Linked DNA regions of Homo sapiens: region 2 is linked to region 1. The links are contacts of gene promoters, found by promoter capture Hi-C in blood cells and fetal thymus (Javierre and others, 2016). All regions are on one chromosome and are shown on one strand. Each heading gives the region's core, a stretch centred on a gene start or on the middle of the fragment in contact. The rest is flanking DNA. Distances are from core to core; before and after follow the strand shown.

The links. The method cuts DNA at HindIII sites, captures the fragments that hold promoters and counts their contacts. A CHiCAGO score of 5 or more calls a contact.
Region 2: a contact is called between a fragment that was not itself captured here and the fragment with the promoter of ZNF614 in region 1, in 1 of 17 cell types (fetal thymus). The highest score is 5.8, in fetal thymus.

Annotation. Positions count from the first base shown.
Region 1 is chr19:52,026,539-52,030,278 of GRCh38, reverse strand. It overlaps ZNF614 (zinc finger protein 614), which reads left to right and starts at 1,900. Exons shown (of 5, transcript NM_025040.4): 1 at 1,900-2,037. It overlaps LOC112268244 (a long non-coding RNA gene), which reads right to left. Exons shown (of 2, transcript XR_002958414.2): 2 at 499-3,167. RefSeq lists enhancers at 1,413-2,172, 2,643-3,413. The HindIII fragment of the contact is 7,426 bases long and covers 1-3,740 here.
Region 2 is chr19:51,887,763-51,891,502 of GRCh38, reverse strand. ZNF649 (zinc finger protein 649) reads left to right here. Exons shown (of 5, transcript NM_023074.4): 5 at 1-2,268. The coding sequence ends at 885. ZNF649-AS1 (ZNF649 antisense RNA 1) reads right to left here and starts at 3,478. Exons shown (of 3, transcript NR_110733.1): 1 at 3,377-3,478. ZNF577 (zinc finger protein 577) reads left to right here and starts at 3,552. Exons shown (of 6, transcript NM_001370449.1): 1 at 3,552-3,740. RefSeq lists an enhancer at 3,428-3,740. The HindIII fragment of the contact is 2,278 bases long and covers 682-2,959 here.

The DNA.
Region 1 (3,740 bases), core at 651-3,150:
TGGGGATGGGGTTCGGACTCTGCATTTATAAAAAGAGCCTTCTTAAATTTGAACATCTCTGCCCTAAATTGTGGATTGGTGCTCCCATCACCATTCCCACACTGTAACAGGATGGATTCAGGGCAGATTGTCTCCAGCAATGAATCAGACAAAAGTGCTCCACCAACCAGGCCCTTGAATCACCTTCCTTGTCCCGTGAATCAGCACAGCCTGCCACGGCAAAGTTTTATCAGCCCACTCCTGGAAATGATCAGTGAAGGTCCCATCATGGGCTGCTCATAGTCCTGTGGACCAGGTGCTAAACTTACCTACCAGAGATTAACATTCCAGATGAACGGGGCTGAAATTTAATCCTGGATGGAATATGTTATAACACTCAAGAAATACGAACATGAAATTCTTATTCTCTAGAAATTACAAAACGTAAGTAAAATGAAGAAATTTTAAGTCACCATAATTGTACGGAACAGTCAAATATTGTTAGTATATTCTCCAGAATTTTTCAAATGCATGAGCATATTTATTTTCTGAAAGAAAACAGCCTATTTTGCATTTATCATGCCATGAACTTATTATACATCATCATACCTATTTTCTAAGATCAACATGTTTTATAATATATTCATGATTATGGTACAAAGATAGTAAAATTAAGTATAAATTGGGAATATTTTTCAAGTAAAAACATGGCATTCTCTACCTATGAACACAAACAATATTAATTCAAACTAAATGTCTTGTTTAACCAATCACAATTTTCCAAAAGATGTTTATGATTTCTTCCAATAACAAGACCATAAAATATATACTATCCTGCAGATCATTTTTTTGTCCTCTGACAAAGTTTTCTTTTTTATAAAACAATTGTAGCATATTCTTTTAAATTGATATATACTCTTACAGTTCAGCAGATGTTCCATAATTTACCAAAGTATTCATCTCTCATTGTAATTCCCTTTTTTTGTAAATTACAAAAGTTGTGGTTAATATTAAGACAGATTTGCCTAGATAGCTTTTAGAATTGCTGTGTCAAAGAAAACGAAAAAATTAAATTGGCTCTAGGTTGCCTTCCAAAAATACAATATTTACTTAAATCTTCTACAGTTACAACGCCAACATCTGCAAAAATAGAACTAATATTTTTTAAGTGTGACTTTTTAAAAAATCTGGAAACATTGCAAAGTAGGATGATCGCATTCTAATAATTTCATATTCTTAAGTGCCCCACTGTCATCTTCCTTTACTTCTGGAAGGAAACATGTAGATATTAACACAGTTGCACCTTCACCTCCTCATCCCCTTCCCCACTGGCAGTGGTTTTAATAGCAAGCCCCATGTGGGTATTAGCATTTAATGGAGCATCACTCCTGTTCTCGGCTTCGTCCATTCAGTCAGAGTCTAATCTAACCCACAAAAGCCTTACCCAGCCCAGAACCCCCGCCCTATCCCCAAATCTAACACTTTCAGTGACCACTGGTTTTGGCAACTCTGTGACCGCTTCCTGGCCAGCACCGTGACTTCTTCAAACCTTGTTTATTTTTCCAAATTGTCCTGGATATGAGCATCTTCTCTGCCGTACGGCTGCTGCCTTCCTCTAAGATGGCCGTGCCCATGGTGCTCCAGCTAAGGCTCCACTCTCAGCTATAATGGGCACAAAGGGCGCCGCCATCTTTTTTCCACAGCAGGCTGAATAGAATGCCACTGCGCCGTGTTGGCCTTGGCTGGGCACCCGACTCTTGAGTGTCCCTTGCAACGAAGAGAGAAAGGCACTGAGGTGACTAAGAGTGATTCCCACAGCCATTATGGCCGCTCCTGTCAGAAACGCTGCGATGGGCGCAGCCCTGTGACCTCATAGAGCGGCGCCCGCAGTCTGAACTCGCGATCCCGGGCAGGCTCCGTGGTCCTCGCCTCGCTTCACGGTCTTTACCGCTCAGCTTCCCGGAGTCCGCGCAGGAGCGCGTCTGAATAGGAAGCGTTTTCGGACGTGGATGCGGCGTTTTGTCGCTGCCAGTGGTGTCTGGAGAGGTTCGGGCTCGGGTGAGTCGAGTTCTGGGCATGGACTCGCGGCCTGTGGGTCTGTGTACCGATGGTGCGTGGAGCGTCCTGATTGGGGCTGTATTTGAACGCAGTCGCTGAGGAAGCGGGGCGTTAATGACGGGTCCTTTGGCTGTAGGGATGAAGAGTCTGAGGAAATCAGCGACGAGTCCGACTCTGTCTGGGTCTGGGGCCCTTGTGAGTCACCCTTTACGGGTGTTGGGCTGGGGGACGGTCAGGTCTTTCCCTTCCCATGAGGCCCTATCTCAGGCTATCACATGGGATATTATCTTTCCTGAAGAATATAACATGTGCTCTTGAAAAAAATGTTTATTTTACTGCTGTTGAGTGCAGTGTTAAATGTTCGTTAAGTCTAGTTGGTTGATAATGTTGTTCAAGTTTTCGGTATCCTTGCTGAGTTTCTATTTGTTTTCTTTATTATTGCAAGTAGGGTAATGTAGTCTTCAATTATTATTGTTGAATTGTCTAATCCTCTCTCATTCTGTTTTGCTTCATACGTTTTTAAATTATCATATTCTTATATATACACCCTTATATTATTATTGCCAGCCATTGTAACCATTGTTGCCACTCACCTAGGCCTTGGTGTCCAGAGTTTTATTGGATATCAGTTAACACACACACACACAATTGACTGCCTATGAGGCTGACTTCAATCTCCAGCTCCTCCAGATATCAAACTAATACCACGTGGTCCAAGGTCTCCCACAGTAAATCACATTATTAGGATAGACAATTTGGCATGGCTTAAATTGCCCTGATAACCAAAGACAGTTTTATCAAGCAGCGTATTCCAAAGGCTTAGAGTTTGCCTCATAGGAACTGTGGGCAAAGGACAAAGCTCTCTTGGGTAAAGTTACTCCTTTAGCGCATAATGTGAAATGAGACAGTTCTTGTGATTTGCTTAGTACATTGGTCTTGACACGAGGTATGTATACCCAAAGAGCTTACAGAGACTTTCGAACCAGTACATGGGCACACGTGGTTTTTAAAGACATTCTTGGAGCCTTCCATGTGTTCTCTTTCCTAAAATTGATCTGTCTGAGAATTCACCTTGAAGGGGGCCACCCCTCCACAACCTGTGGGTGTTTCTTGTCAGGTGGGATGAGAGACTGAGAAAAGAAATAAGAGACAAAGTATAGAGAAAGAAAAGTGGGCCCAGGAGACCAGCACTCAGCATACGGAGGACCCACGCTGGCACTGGTCTCTGAGTTCCCTCAGTATTTATTGATCACTATCTCTACCACCTCGGAGAGGGGGATGTGGCAGGACAATAAGGTAATAGTGGGGAGAGGGTCAGCAGGAAAACATGTGAACAAAGGTCTCTGTGTCATAAATAAGTTTAAGGAAACGTGCTGTGCCTTGATGTGCACGCACACAAACATTTCGGTACAATAAAGAGCAGTATTGCCACCAGCATGTCTCACCTCCAGCCCTAAGGCGGTTTTCTCCTATCTCAGTAAATAGAACAGACAATGGGGTTTTACACGGAGACATTCCATTCCCAGGGACGAGGAGGAGACAGATGCCTTTCTCTTATCTCAACCGCAAAGAGGCCTTCCTCTTTTACTGATCCTCCTCAGCAGAGACCCTTTACAGGTGTCGGGGTAGGGGACGGTCAGGTCTTTCCCTTCCCACGAGGCCATATCTCAGGCTATCATATGGGGAGAAACCTTGGACAATAC
Region 2 (3,740 bases), core at 571-3,070, 140 kb after region 1:
GGGAAAGCCTTCTACAAGAAGTACAGGCTCACTGAACACGAGAGAGCTCACAGAGGAGAGAAACCCCACGGGTGTAGCTTGTGTGGGAAAGCCTTCTACAAGAGGTACAGGCTCACTGAACACGAGAGAGCTCACAAAGGAGAGAAACCATACGGGTGCAGTGAATGTGGGAAAGCCTTCCCCAGGAAATCTGAGCTTACTGAACATCAAAGGATTCACACGGGAATTAAGCCCCATCAATGCAGCGAATGTGGGAGAGCTTTCTCCAGAAAATCACTACTCGTTGTACATCAGCGAACTCATACAGGAGAGAAGCCTCATACATGCAGTGAATGTGGAAAAGGCTTCATTCAGAAGGGCAATCTCAACATACATCAACGAACTCACACTGGAGAGAAACCTTATGGATGCATTGACTGTGGCAAGGCCTTCAGCCAGAAGTCTTGCCTTGTAGCACATCAGAGATATCATACAGGAAAGACTCCCTTTGTATGTCCTGAATGTGGGCAACCCTGTTCACAGAAGTCAGGACTCATTAGACATCAGAAAATTCACTCAGGAGAGAAACCCTATAAATGCAGTGACTGTGGGAAAGCCTTCCTTACAAAGACAATGCTCATTGTACATCACAGAACTCACACGGGAGAGAGACCCTATGGCTGTGATGAGTGTGAGAAAGCTTACTTCTATATGTCTTGCCTTGTTAAACATAAGAGAATACACTCAAGGGAGAAACGGGGGGATTCAGTGAAGGTGGAAAATCCTTCCACAGCAAGTCACAGCTTAAGTCCTAGTGAACATGTGCAGGGGAAAAGCCCTGTTAATATGGTAACTGTGGCAATGGTGGCAGGGCAGTGTGAGTTTGCCCACATCCTGCATTCATGATAAACAGTTTGCTGTTTGATCATATAGCCTCCAGCGGAATGCTGAGTTTGTCATGTCCCATGGGCCTTTGGCTCCCTGCACTAATATGTATAGTAGGGTTTACAAGATATGAAATATATTTTACTTTTTTATATCTTATAAACCTCACTACCCCTCCCACAATATTGTTTTTCATTTACTATCTTGATCATAGAGTTTGGCTGGGGAGGGGGGCAGTTTTAGAGGCTTCCACTTGGTGTTCCTCAGAATGATATCTCTTACTCCGGGGGCCAAGGTAGGGGTTAGCTTTTGTTCTCTTTGTAGTTTAGATTGTATCTCTTGCCTTGTTCAAGTTCACAAATCTTTTTGTGTATACACATATGTACATGAAAATGATGTTCATGCTTTTTATTATTTTACCCTTCATTATTTCATTTTTTATAGTTCTCATAGCTATGTCTTTCAGTTCACTAATCTTTTTTCCACAGTGTTTAATCTGTCATTAATCCCATCCAAAGTATGTTTTCTCTCAGAAATTGTAATTTTTAACCTCTAATAATTTGACATGGGTTTTTCCCTGTTATATCTTTCATATCTTTATTTATCATGGTTTTACTTTTAACCTATTTATGCTTTCATATTTAAAGTGGGTGTTTAGTGGGCAACATACAGTTGGGCCTTCCTTTTTTATCCAGTTAACAATCTCTGTCTTTTTACTGGGGTATTTAGATCATTTACGTTCAATGTATTGATGTTTTTAGGTTTAAATTACTAACTTACTATTTGTTGTTTATTCTATGTCTTCTTTGTTCTCCTTTTCTTCTTTTTCTGCTTTCCCTTAGAGTAGCTGAGTGTGTTTATATTACATATTGTCTCCTTTGTTGGCTTATTAACTGTAAATCCTTGTCATTTGATTCCTTGAGATTTTATAGCATACATCATTGTGAGGGATTGCATATTTATGTCCTCTCCAAATTTACATGTTGAAGTCCTAATCCCTAAGGGATGGCATTAGGAAGTGTGACCTTTGGAAGGTAATTACATCTTGAAAGTGGAACCCTCATGATGAGATTATGTGTCTTATGAGACAACACAGAAGAGAGTTTGTTTTCTCTTTCTCTGCTCTTTGCCATGTGAAGACAGAATGAGATGACCATGCATAAACCAGGAAATGGACTCTCACTGGACACTAGACCTGCCAACACCTTGATTGTGTTTTAGAGTCCAGTTCTAGAGACTCCTCAGCCTCTGGAACGTGAGAAATGAATGTTTGTTAAGGCAGTCAGTCAGTCTATGGTGTATTTTTTCTAGTAGCCTGAACTGACTGAAAGAAAATCATGAACTTATCATTCTAACTTCAAGGACATTATATCACTTACTGTATAATAAAATAATCTTACAGTAGTATATCTCTATTTCCTGTGACCAGATCAGTGTCAGTGAAGAGATTGTCTTCTAGATGCTACTGGAATACATATTTGAGGTATGGGTAATCTTGATTTTACATGATAAATTCATTCTAGCATTCCAAACTCCATTTATCTTTGGGTACTTTATAATATATGAGGAAATTTCTGGCATTTAAACTTCATTTAGTGTAGGCAAATTTTGAGTCCAAGTTTCAGTCAACCAGCCAAGTCAACAGTTAGCACCACTCAATTTAGCTCACACACTGAAATTGCCAGTAGAATGTAATCTCCATGAATGAGAGTCTTTGTGCCTGAATTTCCAACTGTTGTATTCCCAGCACGCACAACAGTGTTTGACACATTAGGCATTTTATAAACATTCGCTGGATAAATGAGTGAATGATCAATCCCTTTAAAGGTTCTCTGAGGCTGGTTATAAAATTATAGGGAGCAGGTTTGGTGCTAGAATTCATCAGTTAATTGATCAGCTGAGTTTCAGTATTGAACAGAATCATCTCCCCTTCAGAGTTTTGATTTCAAGTTGCTCCCACCTTCCTGGATGTAAAGGCTTGTTCTGCCTTTGGCTTTTCCAGGGTGAGAGAGCCCTGTTTTCGTGTTGGTTCCCCACTTTGTCAACTGCTGATCAACTGTGTTCTCCATTCTCCACACCAATTATAACCAAAGCTTTAACACGCGGTTGTTTTATCCATTCTATGACTGACTCCTTCCTCTGAGGCTACATCTGATGTAGATGTAAAGATACTTCTTAGGCAGTTCTCAAAGGCTGCTTTCTCCAGCCAGATGCATCCTCAGGAGTAATAACCCCTCCGATTGTTGCTCAGGTCCCTCCCTCTTGAAATTCCTGTAAGACTGCCGCGCCACATGGTTTCTTTCCATTCTTCTTAGGATCAAAGTGCCTAAATGTCTGTGACCATCTCTACCCATCCTGTAGACAGATCAGGGCAGGCTTGAGCCTTTGAGAAACTAAGCAGTTTATGTAGCGCCCCTGGCTAATGTTGCAAAGCCAAGATCTAGCAGTTCACGTGGACTGGAAAAAGGGTGAAATGGGTCGTTTTCAATTGCTTTTCATCGTCAGAACCTACCTGTCTTAAGGCGCGAAAAGAGGGACTCCGCCTGCTCTACGGCAGTAGGGTTGAAAATGGCTGCTCCCAGCAAGCGTCCCCTGGGCGCAGACATATTGCATCATAAAGGGACGGCTGGTGCCGTATTCCGTGTCTCCGGAAAGACGCAGTATGGCCCTCGCCGGCCGCCATCCCCGAAACTTGCGAGTGTCGCGTCTGCAGTGTGTGGGGTTCGCGGGGCGGCGGGTAGAGGCGAGTGTTTAGAGACTTCGGGTCCCTGACTCGCCTCCAGCAGTGGAGACAGGTCATCGGTCTGGTCTGCGTGGGCTTCTGGGAATGTTTCAGGGGCAGGGAGAGCGCGCTTTTTTTTTTCTGTTGTTCGCTA